Linked DNA regions of Homo sapiens: region 2 is linked to region 1. The links are contacts of gene promoters, found by promoter capture Hi-C in blood cells and fetal thymus (Javierre and others, 2016). All regions are on one chromosome and are shown on one strand. Each heading gives the region's core, a stretch centred on a gene start or on the middle of the fragment in contact. The rest is flanking DNA. Distances are from core to core; before and after follow the strand shown. Region 1 holds the start of KRTAP4-2 (keratin associated protein 4-2). Region 2 has its middle 9.3 kb from the start of KRT17.

Evidence for each region. The method cuts DNA at HindIII sites, captures the fragments that hold promoters and counts their contacts. A CHiCAGO score of 5 or more calls a contact.
Region 2: a contact is called between a fragment that was not itself captured here and the fragment with the promoter of KRTAP4-2 in region 1, in 1 of 17 cell types (total CD4 T cells). The highest score is 5.5, in total CD4 T cells.

What each region holds. Positions count from the first base shown.
Region 1 is chr17:41,176,805-41,179,567 of GRCh38, reverse strand. KRTAP4-2 (keratin associated protein 4-2) reads left to right here and starts at 1,347. Exons shown (of 1, transcript NM_033062.4): 1 at 1,347-2,122. The coding sequence starts at 1,404. The coding sequence ends at 1,814. The HindIII fragment of the contact is 17,641 bases long and covers 1-2,763 here.
Region 2 is chr17:41,632,524-41,635,286 of GRCh38, reverse strand. It overlaps the pseudogene KRT42P. Among named protein-coding and RNA genes, the nearest start is that of KRT17, 9.3 kb to the right of the region's middle. The HindIII fragment of the contact is 4,882 bases long and covers 1-2,763 here.

The DNA of each region.
Region 1 (2,763 bases), core at 98-2,597:
CACCTGAGAGAAGAAAGGGAATCTCCCTCATTCATCCAATCCCCTCCATCTGGTTCTTGGATCTCCCTCAGAAACACCAGCTTACACTGAAACTCCTCCCCTGATTATCTGCAGAGGCTGCCCAGTTCATAAAACATTTCTATCATGGTAAGTCAGACATTTTTCCACCCCCTTCCCTGGGTTCCTTGACTCCTCAGGGGTGGGGAAATACATATATATTTATTAACTGATGAGTTAATGAATTGACAACATAGCACATTTTTGAAACAATAGTCAGCCATCCCTACATGAAAAAATATAGGCTGATATCCTTTGTTCTTGATACCTGTTTTCTGCTTTCTTTCTCTCTTTATTGATTTATTTTTTGAAAACAAAGATGTAAAGTGTGAAATTGGATCAACAACTTCTATAAGGAAGCAGCAGAGTATAGGACATCTTCAAGGCCCAGCAATTCAGCAGAGAAAGCAAGAGGGCTGGGAGCGAATTAGAGCAAGCAAAGGATACTGAGTCATCTAATTTGGGTTGGCCAGAAAATTTTGGAACCTGGAGAGATGAGCTCATGTGCCCTGTTAGAGCTAGGAAGGCAGAAAGGCAAAGTCACAAGGAAAATCTGCCCCAGGGAGCAAAAAAATGAGGGACTTGGACCTTTAAGTATAGCTGTTCTCTGAAGCCAACATTCCCCAAGAGGCCCTGAATCTGAATTTTGGAGGGTTGTTTCTGTAGAAAAGGAAACATCAAACTTTCACAGCTTAGTTTTCCACCTTAAAACAGCTCTGTATTTCTCATCAGAAGGTCTAGAAAATGGGTCACAATTCAGAGTGCGGAAGATAAAAAAGCGATAGGTCCTACGGTGTTCTCGTTCTCACACCAGTGGTCATCTGTTTCACACTGAAATCTGTTTCACACTGAAACCTTCACAGGCCATCTGACCCATAATGAAGGAGCCATCAGACTGAAATGCAGCTTTATCCTCCTGAGTCACCAGAAAGAGTCAAGGGCCTGTAAGAATAGTAATCACCCAAGAGTAGTCATGATGTGTTAAGCAAATGAGACTGAAGCACATAGTATGTGCTTACAGGCAGATGTCACATGGCTGCTCTAGGAGGAAGCTATAGTAAGAGAGACACAGGAGGTGGTTCAGGAAGAGCTGAGCTAAGGAGTCCTAACACATTAGGGAAAGGAGACAGTGTTTCCATCTATGTGGATAAGTTAACCAGAACAACAAACTTGCCTAATTTGATAATTGCCTACATATCAGGACAAATAATAACAAGGAAAGAGTGTTGCATCTGATGACATCAGGCCTTAGCAGGGTATAAAAGAGGATCTGGGGCAAGGAAACTTCCAAACCTTCCAAACCCACCTTCCTGGAAATCCACCCAGAACCTCCACCCTCTGACACCATGGTCAACTCCTGTTGTGGCTCTGTGTGCTCTGACCAGGGCTGTGGCCTAGAGAACTGCTGCCGTCCCAGCTGCTGCCAGACCACCTGCTGCAGGACCACCTGCTGCCGCCCCAGCTGCTGTGTGTCCAGCTGCTGCAGACCGCAGTGCTGCCAGTCTGTGTGCTGCCAGCCCACCTGCTGCAGCCCCAGCTGCTGCCAGACCACTTGCTGCAGGACCACCTGCTGCCGTCCCAGCTGCTGTGTGTCCAGCTGCTTCAGACCCCAGTGCTGCCAGTCTGTGTACTGCCAGCCCACCTGCTGCCGCCCCAGCTGTGGCCAGACCACCTGCTGCAGGACCACCTGCTACCGCCCCAGCTGCTGTGTGTCCACCTGCTGCCGCCCAACCTGCTCTAGTGGCTCTTGCTGCTGATGCCCTCACCTATACTCACCTGCCTTTATTAACCAGCATTCTTGATATGATCCACCTGTGAACTGAATCATGCAAGGCCAATTGGACAACCTCAGTTCCAACCAATTCTTGGATTGAGTTTGGCCTCCAAATATGCTCACCAAACACTATGTTGCTACCCTCTACCAAATGAATACAAGTTTGAATTTTCTCTGAAATATGTCAACCCCATGTTCCCTGAATTGAAATATTTGCTCTCTACCATAATTTATCACATGGAGCTATTCCTCTATCTTAAATAAATTTTAATTTTTGAGGCATACAAATAATATACGGGCATTGTGTCTCATTTTTCCTTCTTGAATTCTCATCCTTACCTGTCAAATTTTCTGATGTTCTTCCCTGCAGAGGGAGAAGACCACAGCAGATGATATCAGGGGCTCCACCTCTATCCTATCAGCACTCTCCATTCAAACATAGGAAAATGGTTCCTTAGAGCAGGCACCTGGAACTCTCTACCTGAGGACTTTCTCTGGATAAAGGAGCAAACTCTGGGCTGGAGACTTAAAGCCTCTAGGAACAGCACTCAGAGAATGAGTGGGAGTTGGTAATATATGCCCTGGCTTGTTTCCCTCCAGTGGGGGGTATGTCAAACCAGTCTTCCAGAGGTCTTCAGCGGGATTTATACCAGATGCCTGCAGGAACATTCTGATCATGAACTCACTCTATAATGACTTTCCCTCCTTCCCAGGGTCATTCTTCAAGTTTCCTCCAGTGTTTCTTGGGTTAATCGTCCAAATATACCACATGTTCTCAGATCCTCTTTTGTGGGTTTGCCCCAGAGAGCACACAATCTAAAACAGCAGCATTCCTAATCTCAGTATTAGTGTCCTTCAAAATGTTTTTGTACAATATGAATGGTTACCATAGATTTTGATCAACTCTTGAGTTTACTGTCACCTGAATGGAC
Region 2 (2,763 bases), core at 69-2,568, 460 kb before region 1:
GTGAGGAGGGAGGCTGCCCTAACCCTTTGGCCTCAGACCCCTGCTCCCAGCCCCACCTCTGCTTCCTGTTTTGTTAGAGCCTTACTGACGTCATTATCTCTCCAGATTCCCTCAAAGACTTTGGGAGACAAGACTTGGTCCCCCTTTTACAAACGAGGGAACGGAGGCTCTAGAACTGACTTCCTGAAAGGCTTGGATCCAAAGCTCCCTCAGTTCAGCGGCCACGTCTATTTCCCTCAGACACAGGGATCCTTGAACCTGTGGGCTGTATCTCCCCGCGGACTTGGAAGAATCCCAAGAGAGTGGGGCTCCCACAGGTCAGAGGCTAATTCTGCCTCCTCTGACTGGGAGTCTCCACCAGGGCCACGTTGTACCTGGGCAATGATGTCAGGCCCCGATCTCTCCACCCTTACCCCAGGGCCCTGGAATGCTGGGTGAGGGGCCAGGCCAGCCTCCGGCTCCTGGCCTGTGCAGCCTTGTCCTGTGCCCGTGCTGGCTCCCAGGGCTGGGTTCTCCGGGCTCCCCACAAGAATAAGCTCAGCCTCCTAACTGTGGCTGAGGATGGAGGGTCACCCTACCCCAGGGCTACAGACCAGCACCACCTTTGTTTCTTTCTTTCTTTTTTGAGACAGATTTTTACTCTTGTTGCCCAGGCTGGAGTGCAATGGTGTGATCTCGGCTCACTGCAACCTCCACCTCCCAGGTTCAAGCTATTCTCCTGCCTCAGCCTCCTGAGTAGCTGGGATTACAGGTTCGTGACACCACGCCCAGCTAATTTTTGTATTTTTAGTAGAGATGGGGTTTTGCTATGTTGGCCAGTCTGGTCTCAAACTCCTGACCTCAGGTGGTTCACCTGCCTCTGCCTCTCAAAGTGCTGGGATTACAGGCGTGAGCCACCGTGCCTGGCCACCACCTTTGTGTCTGAACAGACCGCTGAGGCCCTGGTGCTCAGGCTGGGCTCTTGCTATGGAGGGGTCCTTGGGGAGGCTCTCAATATGTCCAGCCTGAGCCCCAGGCCCTGGGTGGGTGGGAGGAGGCAAAATACACTCCTGGGGTTTTGGCCTGAACTTCAAGGGCCAGGGTCCCAGCCCCACTTCAGCCCGGCTGTAACGGGCTACCCAGGGTCTCCATCCAGACCAGACTCTTCACCCGACCCATGGACACCCTGGTTGTCACCACTACCAGCATCTGCCAGTTCTCCACCTCTGGCTCTGTCAAGGGCCTGTGGACACCTGGCGGGGGTTTCTCCTGGATGTCATCTGTCAGTGTTGGGGGTGCCTTTCGCCAGCCTCCTGGGAGTCAGCAGCTGTGGCAACATGTCGGTCACCTCCTCCTGCTTCTTGGTGGGACTTGGGGGAGGCTACAGCGGTGGCTACACCTGTAACCTGGGTGGGGGCTTTGGCTCCAGCGTTGACGTGGCGGATGCCCTGCTGCGGGGGCGGTGAAAAGACCATGCAGAACCTTACTGACCACACACACAGCACACACATACACACAAACACCACACACAACCACACACACACATACACACACACAAACACCACACACACCACACACACCATCACACACATACACACAAACACCACACACACACCACACACGTACACACACAAACACCACACACACCCCACACACATCACACACATACACACACAGAAACACCACACACACACCACACACAGCACACACGTACACACACACAAACACCACACACCATACACATCACACACTACCCCAAACGCCACGCGCCCCACTCACACCTCACACTCCCAGATTCACACACAGGCGCATGCCCACCGATCGATACACACACACTAAAAGACTCCTATATACACATTCACACATAGCTCACAGGCACATCCACATACACACATACTACATACACACACACATACCACACACCTACACATATACCCACCACACCCCCAACACCCCCTCCACACATATTAGTCACACACCCCCCCAAACCCCCCACACCCTCTCCAACACATATACACACCCACCCAAACATACCACACACCACACACACACTCATACACATCACACACTACACAAACATCACACACATACACACCACACACACCACACATACACGCGCACGTACACGCACACACACCACACACACACCACACACATCAGAGACACACAGCACACACACATCACACACATATACACACACAAACACCACACAGACCATACACATACACACATACACGCCACACACACATCACGCACACACCACATATACATCACAGACACACGCAAACACCACACACACACTCCAAACACATCACACACATACACAAACACCACACACACCACACACATACTCACCATACACACCATAGATACATCACACACACACTCACCACACACACCACACACACATACACATACACACAGACACCACACACACACCCCACACCACACATGCCACACATATTCCACACGCACCACACACATACACACTACACACACACCATACACATATATACCCACAACCACCCATGTACCACACACCACACACACCACACGCATATACACACCACACACACAATACACACAGATCTCACACACACATACACACCACACACACATATACACCACACCACATGCATACCACACACCACACACACCACATACACACATACTACATACACATAAACACCACACACATCACACACCACACACCACACACACATCACACACCACACACACACACACATACACACACACTCTCTCTCATGACCTCTAAGAACATGG